Regions from separate parts of the Homo sapiens genome. Here all the other regions are linked to region 5. Evidence: promoter capture Hi-C in human tissues and cell types (Jung and others, 2019). All regions are on one chromosome and are shown on one strand. Each heading gives the region's core, a stretch centred on a gene start or on the middle of the fragment in contact. The rest is flanking DNA. Distances are from core to core; before and after follow the strand shown.

Evidence for each region. Contacts are between HindIII fragments. The study calls those that stand out against the background at their distance.
Region 1: a fragment that was not itself captured here is called in contact with the fragment with the promoter of PDE2A in region 5 in 1 of the 25 tissues and cell types used here (spleen).
Region 2: a fragment that was not itself captured here is called in contact with the fragment with the promoter of PDE2A in region 5 in 2 of the 25 tissues and cell types used here (IMR-90 fibroblasts and spleen).
Region 3: a contact is called between a fragment that was not itself captured here and the fragment with the promoter of PDE2A in region 5, in 2 of the 25 tissues and cell types used here (mesenchymal stem cells and thymus).
Region 4: a contact is called between a fragment that was not itself captured here and the fragment with the promoter of PDE2A in region 5, in 1 of the 25 tissues and cell types used here (bladder).
Region 6: a contact is called between a fragment that was not itself captured here and the fragment with the promoter of PDE2A in region 5, in 3 of the 25 tissues and cell types used here (dorsolateral prefrontal cortex, lymphoblastoid cells and spleen).

Annotation. Positions count from the first base shown.
Region 1 is chr11:72,823,127-72,825,826 of GRCh38, forward strand. It overlaps ATG16L2 (autophagy related 16 like 2), which reads left to right. Exons shown (of 18, transcript NM_033388.2): 8 at 934-996; 9 at 1,608-1,716; 10 at 2,176-2,281. Among named protein-coding and RNA genes, the nearest start is that of ATG16L2, 10 kb to the left of the region's middle. RefSeq lists enhancers at 1-81, 132-251. The HindIII fragment of the contact is 3,926 bases long and covers 1-2,700 here.
Region 2 is chr11:72,530,979-72,533,705 of GRCh38, forward strand. The region is part of intron 1 of LOC105369376 (a long non-coding RNA gene); the gene reads right to left. Among named protein-coding and RNA genes, the nearest start is that of LINC01537, 38 kb to the right of the region's middle. The HindIII fragment of the contact is 4,496 bases long and covers 1-2,727 here.
Region 3 is chr11:72,873,412-72,876,111 of GRCh38, forward strand. All of the region lies in intron 12 of FCHSD2 (FCH and double SH3 domains 2), which reads right to left. Among named protein-coding and RNA genes, the nearest start is that of ATG16L2, 60 kb to the left of the region's middle. The HindIII fragment of the contact is 4,492 bases long and covers 1-2,700 here.
Region 4 is chr11:72,501,275-72,503,974 of GRCh38, forward strand. No RefSeq gene overlaps it. Among named protein-coding and RNA genes, the nearest start is that of LINC01537, 68 kb to the right of the region's middle. The HindIII fragment of the contact is 3,554 bases long and covers 1-2,700 here.
Region 5 is chr11:72,673,109-72,675,808 of GRCh38, forward strand. PDE2A (phosphodiesterase 2A) reads right to left here and starts at 1,314. Exons shown (of 31, transcript NM_002599.5): 1 at 1,029-1,314. The coding sequence starts at 1,099. RefSeq lists enhancers at 1-509, 510-1,135, 1,136-1,762, 1,763-2,387, 2,538-2,700. The HindIII fragment of the contact is 13,863 bases long and covers 1-2,700 here.
Region 6 is chr11:72,419,100-72,421,799 of GRCh38, forward strand. All of the region lies in intron 2 of CLPB (ClpB family mitochondrial disaggregase), which reads right to left. Among named protein-coding and RNA genes, the nearest start is that of CLPB, 14 kb to the right of the region's middle. RefSeq lists enhancers at 1-305, 306-992, 1,675-2,700. The HindIII fragment of the contact is 5,670 bases long and covers 1-2,700 here.

The DNA of each region.
Region 1 (2,700 bases), core at 58-2,557, 150 kb after region 5:
AGCCACTTGGGGTCAGTTCCATCTCACCCCCCCAACCCCTACCCTCAACCCTTTCCCTCCTTCTTGGGATCAGAGCTCTGGGGGTGGGGAGTCAGGCTTCTGAATAGCTGTCACCAGGAGAGAACCTGTGGGCAAAGCCCAGAGCCCAGTCATGCCAGGCATGTGTGCGCAGCCATAGGTGTGCAAGCATGTGCATCCGCAGGGACATGAGGCCACAGGTGTGTACAAGCTTGACTGAGCCCGTCTGTATGTGTGAATATATAAGCATGTGTAGATGTGTGCTCACACTTGTGGGACCTGATTGGGGCTTCAGACCTTGGGTGCCTGTCCGCAGGGTCTCCTCCATCCTTCTTGATTTGCCTGTCATTGAGGCTGCCCGCTCTGGGCGCCATTCCCCAGCCTAACACCTCTTCTCAGTCTTTCCTTGCAGGTCCCTGGTGTCCAGGCCTTGGGGCAGTGAAGAAACCGTGGGGAGGGGCATGAGATGCCAGTCCCCAAAGTCCTTGGGAGCCCTTGTGGGCCAAGTCATTGTAGGACACACCCTCTCCTGGGCATTGCTGAGGTCACCCAGTGAGCCTAGGCTCCCCCCTCCTCCCATCCCCAGCCTGGGGGAACCTTCAGCGTCTCTCCTCCCTGTAGGCCCCGGCTCAGCTTCCCAGGAACTTTTGTTGGTGGGTACTAGTAGGGTAAGGCAGTTCTTCCCATCATGAGGGAGACCTTGGGAGACTTTCATTACCAAATCCATTGCTGCCCCGACCTTCCTGGGACTGATCTGGGTCACCCTGGTCTCCTGATCTTGGAGAAGTCAAGTTCTTATCCCAGACTTGAGAGGTTACAAGCCTCCAGGTCTCTGGCAAAGTGTGGAGATGATGGACAGCCATTTGTACACACACCAGCCAGTCCCTTAGCATATCTCTCTTGGTTTTGTCTCAGGTCTGCCTCAGCCACCTCCCTGACGCTGTCCCACTGTGTGGATGTGGTGAAGGGGCTTCTGGAGTAAGTGTGTGTGTGCCTGTGTGTGCACCCACGTGTGTGTCGGGCTCCCCAGCCCAGGCTTGGTCTGTGTCTGTGCCTCGACCTGTCCATCCCTGTGATGTGCAGCTGTCTGCCTGTGAGTCTGTTGGGCCTTGGAGACAGGAGCCAGGTGAATGGCCTCAGCCCCGGCCCCGGTTCAGCTGTCTTCCAGGTTCTGTCCTCACAAGGGTCTGTCTTCATCCAAGGTCGTCACAGGGGACCAAGAGCTCCAGCCTCAGGCAGGGCAGGAGCTCCTACTCAATTGGGAAAAATGCTCTGAAATGTCAGGGACTCATTCAGAGTCACAGAGCCAAGCAGTGGCAAGACTGGGATTGAAACCCCGGCCCTGAGGTTTCTTTGCACCCACCAACCCTACCCTGCTCCTGTGTCTGCCTCTGTGTGCTCCCCACCCCGTCTCCACACCAACCCCTGGGGTCGAGGCTGGGTTGGGGAATGCTCTCGCTGCTCCTTGGGGCCATGTTCTGCCGCCTGCCATGTCTGCTTCCTATGGTTGATGCCTCAGGGGAGCTGGAGGCTCCCACCTGAGAAGGACTTGCTGAATGCCCTCCTGACCCCAACCCACCTTACCCCAGTTTTAAGAAGAGGAGAGGTCACTCAATTGGGGGAGCCCCTGAGCAGCGATACCAGATCATCCCTGTGTGTGTGGCTGCCCGACTTCCTACCCGGGCTCAGGATGTGCTGGTAAGGGAGGAGCTGAGCCACATGGGTGGGGCAGTGGTGAGAGAGTGCAGGCACAGGGGTGGTCTCGGCACCAGGGGTGGTCCCAAGAGGCCAGGGAAGCAAGGCTGGGCTCCTCAGCAGGAGCAGGAGGCTGCCTCCCACAGCCTGTGGTGGGAGCCACTCAAGCATGTTATGATGTGGGCATAAGCCGGGGAGGGAGAGAGAGGAGGCTGGGAGGCCAGGAGGCCAGGCAGGAGAGTAGAGTAGCATAGCACGGAGGCTGCTGCAGGGGTCCAGGCAGAGGTGAGAACACCTGGTGGGGCCGGGTTTGAAACTCAGAGTGTGGACAGAGAAACTGGGGAGGGAGATACCACGTCTGCAGCAGGCTGTGTCTGCACAGGCACCGGTAAGAGGGCCCGTGAGCACTCACAGAGACATGCGCGGGGAGGGCCGGGGCACCAACCTCCCCTTTCCCCACAGGATGCCCACCTCTCTGAGGTCAATGCTGTTCGTTTTGGCCCCAACAGCAGCCTCCTGGCCACTGGAGGGGCTGACCGCCTGATCCACCTCTGGAATGTTGTGGGAAGTAAGGAGCCCTCCCCTGCCGGCCAACTTGGTGCTTCTCTCCAGACCCTCTCCTCAGCTCACTCCTTGGTGGGCAGAGGTCTTGGATCTCTTTGTGTTTCTCTATCTGGAATATTCTGTGGGCAGTGACTAGACAATGCCTTGGAAAGAGTGAGACTCTGGGCTCACTGTTCTGAAGAAGGGTGGAGCCTCCTGGCTCCTAGGGTCCAGATTTGCAGGATGGGGAGGGCTGAGTTCAGATGGTCCCTGATGGGGATTGGTGGGGGTCCCCTATCATGAGGTCCTACAGGGACAGGCCCTTGAAGAGCAGGTCCCTGAGTCTACCAGGTGACCCTCTTCTAGCATCACTTGAGCTCTCAGAACTCAGGTAAGAGACAAGTATGAACTGTTGGCCTTGTCCCAAGCTCTGTGCTCTGGAGA
Region 2 (2,727 bases), core at 131-2,630, 140 kb before region 5:
CCACTCACTGCAAGCTCCACCTCCCAGGTTCATGCCATTCTCCTGCCTCAGCCTCCCAAGTAGCTGGGACTACAGGCACCTGCCACCACGCTGGCTAATTTTTTTGTATTTTTTTTTAGTAGAGACGGGGTTTCACCGTGTTAGCCAGGATGGTCTCGATCTCCTGACCTTGTGATCCACCCGCCTCAGCCTCCCAAAGTGCTGGGATTACAGGCATGAGCCACCGTGCCGGGCCATTTCTGGGTTCTTTATTCTGCTTCATTGGTCTATGTGTCTGTTTTTGTATCAGTACCATGGTGTTTTGGTTACTGTAGCCTTATAGTATAGTGTGAAGTTGGGTAATGTGATGCCTCTGGCTTTGTTCTTTTTGCTTAGAATTGCATTGGCTATTTAGACTCTTTTTTTGTTCCATATGAATTCTGGAATAGTTTTTTTCTAGTTTTGTGAAAAATTACATTGGTATCTCGATAGGAATACCATTGAATCTGTAGGTTGCTTTGGGCAATATGGCCATTTTAACAATATTGATTCTCCCAATCCATGAACATGGAATGTTTTTCCATTGTCTGTGTCATCTATAATTTATTTCAGCAGTGTTTTGTAGTTCTTCTTGTATAGGTCTTTCACCTCCTTGGTTAGATGTATTCCTAAGTATTTTATTCTTTTTGTGACTATTGTAAATGGGATTGTATTCTTGATTTGACTCTCAGCTTGAACAGTTTTGGTGTATAGGAATGCTACTAATTTTTCTATGTTGATTTTGTATTCCAAAACTTTACTGAAGTGGTTTATCAGTTTCAGGAGCTTTTTGGTAAAGTCTTTAGAGTTTTCTAGTTATAAAATCATGTCGTCTGCAAACAGAAATAGTTTGACTTCTTTGCCTATTGGGATGCCTTTTTTTTTTTTTTTTTTTTGAGATGGAGTCTTGCTCTGTTGCCCAGGCTGGAGTGCAGTGGCGTGATCTCGGCTCACTGCAAGCTCCACCTCCCGGGTTCAAGTGATTCTCCTGCCTCAGCCTCCTGAGTAGCTGGGAGTACAGGTGCCCGCCACCACGCCCAGCTAATTTTTTGTATTTTTAGTGGAGACCAGGTTTCACCATGTTAGCCAGGATGGTCTTGATCTCCTGACCTTGTGATCTGCCTGCCTCAGCCTCCCAAAGTGCTGGGATTACAGGCGTGAGCCACCGCACCTGGCCGTGGGATGCCTTTTATTTCTTTCTCTTGCCTGATTGCTCTGGCTAGGACTTCCAGTACTATGTTGAAAGGAGTGGTGAAAGTTAAGTATGCTTGTCTTGTTCCAGCTCTCAAGGGGAATGCTCCAAGTTTTTGTCCATTCAGTATGATATAGGTTGTGGGTTTGTCATAGATGGCCCATATTATTTTGTGGTACGTTCCTTTGATGCCTAGTTTCTTGAGAGTTTTCATCATGATGGGATGTTAAATTTTATCAAAAGCTTTTCTGTGTCTATTGGGATGATCATATGGATTCTGCTTTTAATTTTGTTTGTCTGGTGAATCACGCTTATTGGTTCATGTATGTTGAACCAGCCTTTCGTCCCAGGAATGAAGCCTACTTGATCATAGCGAATTAGCTGGTTTCAGTTTGCTAGTACTTTGTTGAAGATTTTTGTGTCCATGTTCATCAGGGATATTGGCCTGAAGTATTCTTTTTTCATTGTATCTTTGCCAGGTTTTGGAATCAGGGTGATGCTGGCTTCATAGGGCAGGAGGAGGAGTTAGGGAGGAGTACCTCTTCCTCAATTTTTTGGAACGGTTTCCATAGGATTAGTACCAGTTCTTCTTTTTATGTCTGGTACAATCCAGCTGTGACTTCATCTGGTCCAGGGCTTTTTGGGATTAGCAGGTTTTTAAAAGTACTGATTCAATTCTGGAACCCTATAGTGGTCTGTTCAGAATTTCAATTTCTTCCTGATTAAATCTTGGGAGATTTTGTGTTTCCAGGAATTTTTCAACTTCCTCTAGATTTTCTAGTTTGTGTGCCTACAGGTGTTTATAATAGTCTGAGAATAATTTGTATTTCTGTGGGATTGGTTGTAATGTCACTTTTGTCATTTCTGATTGTGCTTATTTGGATCTTCTCTGTTTTTTTCCTTGTTATCTAGCTAGCAGTCTATGGATCTTGTTTATCCTTTCAAAGAATCAATTTTTGGTTTCATTGATTCTTTGTATGGATTTTGGGTCTCCATTTCATTCAGTGATACTCTGATTTTAGTTATTTCTCTTCTTCTGCTAGCTTTGGGGTTAGTTTTTCTAGTTCCTCCAGGTGTGAGGTTGGACTGTTAATTTGAGATCTGTCTAACTTTTTGAGGTAGGCATTTAGCATAATAAACTTTCCTCTTAATACCACTTCTGCTGAATCCCAGAGATTTTGGTATGTTGTGTCTCTGTTTTCATTTAGTTCAAAGAATTTTTTGATTTCTACCTTAATTTCATTGTTTAGCCAACAGTTTTTCAGGAACAAGTTGTTTAATTTGTATGTAATTGTGTGGTTTTGACAGATCTTCTTTGTATTGATGTCTGTTTCTGTTCCACTCTGATCTGAGACTACGGTTGGTGGTATTTCTTTTTTTTCTAATTGGGACTTACCTTATGGTCAAGCATGTGGTTGATCTTGGAGTATGTTCCGTGTACAGATGAGAAGAATATATATTCTATGGTTGATGGGTAAATGATCGTCTATGATCAGAATCATTTACAGATTTAAAAA
Region 3 (2,700 bases), core at 183-2,682, 200 kb after region 5:
CTTTTCCCATTTTTAAGTTGAGTATTTTTGCCTTTTTATTATTATGAGTTTTAATATATTCTAGAAGTAAGTTTCTATCAGATACATGATTTGCAAATATTTTCCCCCATTCTGTGGGCTGTCTTTCATTTTCTTGATAGTGTCATTTGAAACATGAAAGTTTTAAATTTTGATGATGTCTAATTTATCTAGTTTTTCTTTTGCTGCTTAGGCTTTGGTGTTATATCTAAGAAACTAATCCAAGGCCACAAAGACTTACCCCTGTGGTTTTTTTTGTAAGTTTATTAGCTTTCGCTGTTACATTTAGGTATTCATTTTGAGTTAGTTTGTATATATGATGTAAAGTGGGGTTGTTAAGATAATTAACTGGAAGGTCATTAAACTGAGGCAGCTCCAGCATCCCGGGTTCCTACGTAAGCAAACCAAAACTCAACTCAGTATAAATGGTAAAACAAAACTGAAGCTTAACCAATCAAAAACTGCCAACTACCTTCTAACTAGAAACCTTCCACTGGAATGATCCAAAAAAGGATACTACCGTGCCACTTTAACCAATCAAATATTTGCTTTGTTTTGCTTCTGAGTTCACCCTATAAAAGCATTCCTCTGGTGTTCCATTGGTGGAACCCTGAACTGCATATGATCTGGTGCTGCCCAAGTAATTATCACTATTTTCTCAAATAAAAAAAAATTTAATGTGCCTAAGTTTATCTTTTAACAGGGTCAAACTTCATTCTTTTGCATATGGATATCCACTTGCCCTAGCACCATTGTAGTATGCTTTTGCTTTTTTAAGAGACAGGGTCTCACTGTTGCCCAAGCTGGAATGCGGTGGTATGACAATAGCTCACTGCAGCCTCGAACTGCTGGGCTCAAGTGATCCTCCTACTGTAGCCTTCCCAGTAGCTAGGACTACAGGTGCATGCCACCATGCCTGGCTAATTTTTTAAAATTTTTTGTAGAGACAGCTGTCTCACTATGTTGCCTAGGCTGGTCTTGAACTTCTGGCTTCAAGTGATCCTCCTGCCTCAGCCTCCCAAAATGCTGGGATTACAGGTGCGAGCCACTGTGCCTGACCTCTAGTATTCATTTTAAAACAATGAAATGTTTTTATTTTTGTTTTTTAAAAGAGTGAACCAACAAGCTCTTTCTTAGAAATCACATATGCAAGTCATTTAATTGCTGAAGCAGAAAAGAGAGAAGTATTCACTACATTCTATTTTCTCAAAGCAGTTATTCAAGTAATCCAGTTTTTATAAGATTTTGTCAGTATTTTATCAAACAACAGATAAACATGGTATTTGCCAACTCAGATTTAGACTGCAGTCCCAGAATTAAACACTGCTATCTTCCCTTTAGGATTTCAGTTGCTTATAAGTTAAAAATTGTCTAAAAGCAGAACTTTCTAGTGTTTTCAAATGAATTTTCATGATTTGCCAACTTATTAAAAATTTTCAGAGTATAGCTCTCTGTAAACTTGATGGCATTCCAGATACTACTTGACCAAATCATTTTTGGAAGCTTTAAAGAGACAGAGCTTTTAAAAATAGTATTTTAAAAATCCAGATCTTTTAGGATACATAATCTTGGTTTATAAACACAGTCAATTACCTAGATTTTAACACAACATTTAACATAAACACATATAAGTGTAAAGCTATAGTTGAATTTCAAGTCTGTAAATCTAATTTGGACTAATTCATTTGCCTTTAACATATCTCTTCTCTAAGGACAAGGACTGTGTGTAATGTATTACTATTTAGGACAGTGGTTTACTTGTAGAATAGAATCAATAATGGTAGATAATAGTATTTGCTACTCCATCTTTGGTACCTTAAAAAAAAGCTCCAAACAGCTTTTATCATAGGTACTAGGAACTATATCATCATATATTTCATTTAATTCACAAAACAATTCTAGGGGTCAATATTATAAACTCTATCTATCTATCTAGCTAGCTATTATTTATTTGACAGAGTCTCGCTCTGCTGCCCAGGCTAGAGTGCAGTGGTGCAATAATAGCTCACTGTAACCTTGGATTTCTCCTGAGCAGTTGGGACCAGAAGCATATGCCACCACATCTAATGTTAAAGTTTTTTGTAGAGATGGGGTCTTGCTATGCTGCCTGGTTGGTATCAAACTCCTGGCCTCAAACGATCCTTCCGCCCTCCTGCCCTGGCCTCCCAAAATGCTGGAATTAGAGGTGTCAGCCACCATCCCTAGCCCCAAAACTCCATTTTATAGATGAGAAAAATGATTTAATCAAGGTCACACCAACTGTGGTAAACCATTATATTAAAGGTTCCCAAATAATCATGCTTCCTGGTATCCATGTAGTCCACTCCCACCATGATTCTGGGCTTGTCCATGTGATTTGCTTTGGCTAGTGGGGCATTTGCCAATTTAATGGAAACAGAGGACCCTCAGTAAGTGCTATTTGGATCTGACTTCTTGAAATATGCTGCCACCATGCTGGGGAAGTCCAGTTTAACCTATATGCTGATGAAAGACCACATGGGGAAAAGACCCAGCCATCACAGCTGAGCCCAGCCCTCTGGCCAGTCCTCTAGCTGAAAGTAATTGCTTGAGTAACCTCAGGCAAAACCAGCAAAAGAAATGACTAGTTGGCTTGGCACAGTGGCTGACACCTGTGATCCCCACATTTTGGAAGGCTGATGTGGGAGGATTGCTGAGCCCAGG
Region 4 (2,700 bases), core at 124-2,623, 170 kb before region 5:
AGATGGCTCTTATTATTTTGAACTATGTTTCTTCAATGCCTAGTTTGTTCAGGGTTTTTAACATAAAGGAATGTTGAATTTTATCAAAAGCCTTTTCTGCATCTATTAAGATGATCATGTGTGTTTTGTTTTTGTTTCTGTTTATGTCATGAATTACATATAATGATTTGCATATGTTGAACCAACCTTGCATCCCAGAGATAAAGCCTGCTTGATTGTGGTGGATTAGCTTTTTTTTTTTTTTTCATTTATTTTTTTATTGATAATTCTTGGGTGTTTCTCACAGAGGGGGATTTGGCAGGGTCATGGGACAATAGTGGAGGGAAGGTCAGCAGATAAACAAGTGAACAAAGGTCTCTGGTTTTCCTAGGCAGAGGACCCTGCGGCCTTCCGCAGTGTTTGTGTCCCTGATTACTTGAGATTAGGGAGTGGTGATGACTCTTAATGAGCATGCTGCCTTCAAGCATCTGTTTAACAAAGCACATCTTGCACCGCCCTTAATCCATTTAACCCTGAGTGGACACAGCACATGTTTCAGAGAGCACAGGGTTGGGGGTAAGGTCACAGATCAACAAGATCCCAAGGCAGAAGAATTTTTCTTAGTGCAGAACAAAATGAAAAGTCTCCCATGTCTACTTCTTTCTACACAGACACGGCAACCATCCGATTTCTCAATTTTTTCCCCACCCTTCCCGCCTTTCTATTCCACAAAGCCGCCATTGTCATCCTGGCCCATTCTCAATGAGCTGTTGGGCACACCTCCCAGACGGGGTGGTGGCCGGGCAGAGGGGCTCCTCACTTCCCAGTAGGGGCGGCCCGGCAGAGGCGCCCCTCACCTCCCGGACGGGGCGGCTGGCCGGGCGGGGGGCTGACCCCCCACCTCCCTCCGGGACGGGGCGGCTGGCCGGGCAGGGGGGCTGACCCCCCCACCTCCCTCCCGGACGGGGCGGCTGGCCGGGCGGGGGGCTGACCCCCCCACCTCCCTCCCGGATGGGGCGGCTGGCCGGGCAGAGGGGCTCCTCACTTCCCAGTAGGGGCGGCCGGGCAGAGGTGCCCCTCACCTCCCGGACGGGGCAGCTGGCCGGGCGGGGGGCTGACCCCCCACCTCCCTCCCGGACGGGGCAGCTGGCCGGGCAGAGGGTCTCCTCACTTCCCAGTAGGGGCGGCCGGGCAGAGGCGCCCCTCACCTCCCAGACGGGGCGGCTGGCTGGGCGGGGGGGCTGACCCCCCACCTCCCTCCCTGACGGGGCGGCTGGCCTGGCGGGGGGCTGACCCCCCACCTCCCTCCCGGACGGGGCGGCTGGCCGGGCGGGGGGCTGACCCCCCACCTCCCTCCCGGACTGGGCGGCTGGCCGGGCGGGGGGCTGACCCCCGCCACCTCCCTCCCGGACGGGGTGGCTGCCGGGCGGAGACGCTCCTCACTTCCCAGATGGGGTGGCTGCCGGGCAGAGAGGCTCCTCACTTCTCAGATGGGGCAGCTGCCGGGCGGAGGGGCTCCTCACTTCTCAGACGGGGTGGCTGCCAGGCGGAGGGTCTCCTCACTTCTCAGATGGGGCGGCCGGGCAGAGACGCTCCTCACCTCCCAGACGGGGTCGCGGCTGGGCAGAGGCGCTCCTCACATCCCAGATGGGGCGGTGGGGCAGAGGCGCTCCCCACATCTCAGACGATGGGCGGCGGGCAGAGACGCTCCTCACTTCCTAGATGTGATGGTGACCGGGAAGAGGCGCTCCTCACTTCCTAGATGGGATGGCGGCCGGGCTGAGACGCTCCTCACTTTCCAGACTAGGCAGCCAGGCAGAGGGGCTCCTCACATCCCAGACGATGGGCGGCCAGGCAGAGACACTCCTCACTTCCCAGACGGGGTGGTGGCCGGGCAGAGGCTGCAATCTCGGCACTTTGGGAGGCCAAGGCAGGCGGCTGGGAGGTGGAGGTTGTAGCGAGCCGAGATCACGCCACTGCACTCCAGCCTGGGCACCATTGAGCACTGAGTGAACGACATTCCGTCTGCAATCCCGGCACCTCGGGAGGCCGAGGCTGGCGGATCACTCGCGGTTAGGGGCTGGAGACCCGCCCGGCCAACACAGCGAAACCCCATCTCCACCAAAACCAGTCAGGCATGGCGGCGCGTGCCTGCAATCGCAGGCACTGGGCAGGCTGAGGCAGGAGAATCAGGCAGGGAGGTTGCAGTGAGCCGAGATGGCAGCAGTACAGTCCAGCTTCGGCTCCGCATGAGAGGGAGACCGTGGAAAGAGAGGGAGACCGTGGAAAGAGAGGGAGACCATGGAAAGAGAGGGAGACTGTGGGGAGGGGGAGGGGGAGAGGGAGAGGGAGAGGGAGAGGGAGAGCAGAGATGAGGTCTTGAGTGGTGGATTAGCTTTTTGATGTGTTGCTGGATTCAGGTTGCTAGTACTTTGTTGAGGATTTTTACATCTATGTTCATCAAGGATATTGGCCTGAAGTTTTCTTTTTTTGTGTGTCTTTGCCAGGTTTTGGTATCAGAATGATGTTGGCCTCAAAGAAAGAGTTAAGGCGGAGTCCTTCCTTCTCAGTTTTTTGGAATAGCTTCAGTAGGAATGGTACCAGCTCTTCTTCATACATTTGGTAGAATTTGGCTGTGAATTTCTTTGGTCCTGGGCTTTTTCTTGTTGGTAAGCTTTTTATTACTGATTCACTTTTGGAACTCATTACTGGTCTCCAAGG
Region 5 (2,700 bases), core at 64-2,563:
CACACTAACAAATACACACACATAAATGCACATGGAACAGATAAAAAATGCACACTGATTCACTCTATTTTGCAGACACAACACACATAATATACAAACTCAACCTAATAGACACACCTACATACATATGCAGACCAACCTGCACTCACACTCAGACACATGCGAATAAACTCTCACTCACACAGGGATGATCACAAACTCTGACAGGCTGCTTTACATCCAACCACCAAGGACCCTAGAGCTCTACAGGCCCCTCTACACCCAACATGTCCCTTACATTCCACATGTATACACACACACACACACACACATACCCTGCCTACCACCTCGGCAGCCCTTAGTAGAGGGGTGTCGCCACGGCGCCCCCCACTCACTTGCACATGCACCCCCCTGCACGTGGACACACACGAGGCTGGCACCATATTCCATCTGGCTCCGTAGAACCCTATCCTGGGACAGACGCTTTGGGGTAAAGTTTCATAAAGTGGTGTCCCTGAACCCCAATTCCCAATTCCATGGAAGGTGGTTACCTCTAACCCTCTCTTGCTCCAGGGCCACTCTTATTCATATTTTCTCCATCTTTCCCCCTCCCCACCTCCTTCACACACACATAGCCTTGGTGGGCCAAGACACTCTCCCTCTCCGGGTCCTGAACCAGCCTATTGCAGCCCCGAGAGCTCCTCCCAACTACTTGGCAGACCTCCCCCTCCCCACATACACCCTCAGCCCTTGAAGAACCGGTTCAGGTTCATTATCAGCCCCTCCTCCAACCAGCAGCCCCTTCCATGGGACCCCAGCCTCATCACCTACTAGGTTGACGTTAGACACCCTCATTCTGCTCAGAGGTAACCTGCCCCCACCCCAGGCTGCAGTCTGGCAACGCGGGGAGGAGGGGTGCCCAGGAACAGGATCGATCCTTCCACGTGGCTCAGCTCCATGCCAACCCCAGCTCCTTGGAGGGACTCCCAGGACCCTGTCTGTGGCACCTCTCACAGCCGCTCACCACCCCAGCCCCTCACTATACTCACGGCTCAGCCGGTCGCGCTGCCGGGTACTGCTGGCTCCTGCAGAGGATGGAGTGGCCGCATGCCTGCCCCATCACTCCTCATCGTCCGCCTCCCCAGCCAGACTAAGGTGGCACCTCGCCCTGTCCCCGCTGCCTGGAGTTCAGGGCAGGGCACCCCCAGCAGGCACAGGGACCAAGAGCAGTGGGCTGCCCCCTACTCAGCCTGGACTCAACACCCCAATCCAGCTCTGCTGCCCCGCTGCTCCCGCCTCTCCCGCTGCCACTGCCTCTGCTGCTCGGCTGGCTCTGGGAGGAGGTTGGAGCAGGTCTGATAATGCAGAAGGGGGAGGGAGGAGGGAGGAGGAACAGAGAGAGGCCCAGACAGAGAGGGAGAGAGGGAGAGAGGGAGGGGTAGAGAGAGAGTCTGACTGGGAGAGAGGAAAAAAGACTCACAGACAGAGAGACTGAGAGATAAACAGAGACAGGAAGGGGGACAGTAACACATGAAGAGGGAGAGGAGAGAGGGATCAGAGCCTTAGCGAGATCAAGATGGAAGTACAAAGAGACCAGAGAGGCATAGAGAAACACACACACAGAGGAACAAAGGCAGAAAAGGAAAAAAAATCAGAGGCAGAAATAGAAAGAGAGTGGGGTAGGGGGAAAGGGGAGTGGCTGACAGAGGAGAGAGGGGAGAGGACGAGGGATTTACAATCCTCATGGGCTAGGATGGGGCTGGGGACTTGAGGGGCAGCAGACCCAGACCCTCTGCTGCCCCATCGCAGAAGCCTTCAGGATGAGGGGACACGCTTGTGCCCTCAAGTCTGAGAGATCAGGCCTCCATGCACAGCTAGCTGCCCTCTCCTCTGGGCTCCCTCACCCGGTGTGTATCATCTCCTAGCGTGCATCCCAGCCTGGAGCTGGGTCCACGGAAGACTTAGGGGGCTTTACTGATGGCCTTTGGACTCAGAGCCTTGTCACAGGGCCCACCTCTTGGTGGCTTGGTTTAGCTGGGACTTGGAGCTGATGCGTGAGCATGGACTTCTACCAGGATCTGTGGAGACCTAGGCCACAGCCTGCCCCACATGGCCTTCGCTGCTCACAGACTACAGGCATGGGGGAAGGCCTGTTGCACCCCCACCCTGCTTCCAAAGAGGACTCCCTAGGATAAAGCTATAACCTAGTGAAATAGAGGCATTTTAGGCCCTAGGACAGATAGAGAGTTGTCACAGCAGAGCTACTATTGTATGCAGGAGAAACAGCTCCACACCTTGAGGCAGGAAATGGGGATTTGGATCCTGGCTTCACCATTAACTTACTTATTCATTGGCCTACCAGTGGCTGAGCTCATGGCTCACACTATCCCTTGTCTCAGAGAAGCACTCGGGCTGGGGAGTGGGGAGGGGAGACTTGCAGGCTGTGACAGAAAGAAGCACAGGGTCTGTGAAGCCCAGAGGGACCCCTGACCTAGTTTGGGTGGTGGGGGGGCGGTTAGCAAGCATTTCTGGAAGAGAGGGTCCAAGCTGGGTCTTTTAAGGCAGAAGAGGGTATATTCCAGGGTAGAGGAGCTACAGCAAACCCTCCACAGCAACCCCATCTCTCTGAGCTGTGGGGAGAATACCTCCCCGCCACACAACAGGCTTCAAGCAGAGAAGTCCCTGAGGCTGAATAGAAACCTGACCCATGTTGAAGAACAT
Region 6 (2,700 bases), core at 119-2,618, 250 kb before region 5:
TATTAGAAGCCCAGTAACACACTGGCTTGATTGTTTTCAATATTCTTAGATTCATCTCTGTTCCTCAGTTTCCAGGAAAATTCCTTGGGAGAAAAATTCCAGTTGGTTCTGGCGGTGCTGACATGAATTGCGTTATGATTTTGATTAAGCTGGGATTTTAGAGGAGAGATAGCACTTGGGCGACATAAATGATGGTAGGGAGGCAGAGCCTGACAACTGCCCCTGCTGTTAGGCCCTGAGCGATTACAGCTTTGTGGCCTACACTGCCTCAAGAGGCAGGACCATGCCCAAGATGATGCCTGGCACATACAAGCAGGAAGGCACTCACATTAGTTCCTCATGTTCCTCAGCCATCAGAATGGCTACTGATCATATTGATCCCCTCTCAACCCATCTCAGCTGCCACTGCCATAAAAATAAAGACAAAGCTTCTTCATGTGGCCTCTGATGCCCTGTAGGGTCTGCTTGTTCTAGGCTCCTGGCACCTTCCTCTAGCTGGAGTACCATTGGCCTTTTTCAGTCCTTCACACTGGCCTTGCTTCCTCCTCATGCAGGATTCTTGTAAATAAAAGTTCCTTGTGCTAGAGAGCTCTTCCCAACCTTTTCCACCTAGATAAACTCTTCCTTATCCTTCAATTCCAAGCTCAAGCTTCCTCTGACCAGGGGAAATCTGGCTGTCACAGGCTCTCCTGATTCTCTGTGTCCTTCCTTTGCAGCATTTGTACTAGTTGTCATTTCGCATTTGTAGGATTCACGTCTGACAAGGCTTTGAGCTCCATGAGGCAAATCCTGTACATGTCTGACTACTGATCTACCAAGCACAGTGCCACACATAGTAGGCACTATTTGTTTAATGAATAAACGATTGAACTACTTCATTTTTGTTTGTCCTCTGTCTACAGGTTTATTATGACTGTAATAGCTACACAGTTTGCTTAATTTTTATCATTTACAAAACACTTTTAGCCAGGCGTGGTGGCTCACACCTGTAATCCCAGCACTTTGGGAGACCAAGGCAGGACTGCTTGAGCCCAGGAGTTCAAGACCAGCCTGTGCAACATGATGAGATCTTGTCTCAATTAAATAAACAAACAAACAAAAACACAAAACGCTTTCAATGGCTGGGCATGGTGGCTCACGCCTGTAATCCCAGTACTTTAGGAGGCCGAGGTGGGCGGATCAAGAGGTCAGGAGTTCAAGACCAGCCAACATGGTGAAACTCCGTCTCTACTAAAAATACAAAAATTAGCTGGGCGCAGTAGCTGTCGCCTGTAATCCCAGCTACTCGGGAGGCTGAGGCAGGAGAATGGCTTGAACCCAGGAGGCAGAGGTTGCAGTGAGCCGAGATTGTGCCACTGCACTCCAGCCTGGGCAACAGAGCAAGACTCCATCTCAGGGGAAAAAAAAAAAAACTTTCAATAATATTCAGTGAGTATTTGGTAACTATTTACATGCACAGTGATGAACAACACAGCAATGGTCTGCTGCCCTCCAAAACTCACAGTGTTGTGAGGGAGAGAAGGAAACAGATAACCCATCCCAACAGAAGGTGGTAAGTGCTCTCACTTATATAGTACAGGGTGCTATGGGAATCCACAGATACTGGTGTTGTAGGAGTTATTAAGAAACTATTTCAGGCAGATAAGAGAGGGAGAGGTCCTTGGGAAATTTTCGTTTTTTAAAGCATCTCCAGAAGTTTCTGGTAAAGCCCCGTTCTTAGAGCCAGTCGGCAACCTTTGATATACAAATGAAGGCCATTAAAAAAACTGGGTCTACCCAGCAGAACGCAGTGGCTCACGCCTGTAATCCCAGCACTTTGGGAGGCCAAGGCGGGCGGATCACCAGAGGTCGGGAGTTCGGGACCAGCCTGGCCAACATGGAGAAACCCCATATGTACTAAAAATACAAAATTAGCCGGGTGTGGTGGCGCATGCCTGTAATCCCAGCTACTCAGGACATGGTGCCCTGCATTTGCATATTAAAATGCTAGGGTGGGAGGACCAGCTTTTTTGCAGGGTACATGAATGACATACCTAGTCAAACCAATCCCTTGAGTCCTATGCAAATCAGATACCACCTCCTCCAGCCTCTGTATATACCTGGCTGGTATCCATGGCAGGTGGGGTTCCCTCTCTTGGCTTTGGAGCCCCCTCCCTCTGTCTCTGTACAGGGGAGCTTCTTCCTTCTCCCTTCCTTCTTGCCCCTCCTTCCCTACTAAACTCTCTGCTCCTTAAAACCAATCCACGTGTTTCCGTGTCATCTTATCTAATTCGACATGAGACAGGAGCACTGGTGTCCCTCCACTCATCAGAGCCGTATCACTGGGGGATCAGGGAAGGCTTTCAGGAAGATGTGACAGTGATGACCGAAGGATGAGGAATTTTCCAGACAAGGACTCACCTGCCTGGAATGCTCACAAGATCCTGGGAGAGTGATGAGACAAGTATCATCAAAGATACTTTACAGTGGAGGCCCCCGAGGAAACTGAGAGACTAGCCCAAGGCCACACAGGGCTGGCTGTGCTCCTTTTCAGTGACATGACCCCTCCCTCCAGGCCCACTGCGTTAGGCCCTGGCTGTTCTCTGCTCATGGCCAACTGCCTGCCTCTGCAGGGCTTCTGGGCAGTTGACCACCTGCTCCCACAACTCACCTACCCATGAAGTTATAGAGAAGCTGCTAATCCAACCTTTCCCAATTGCC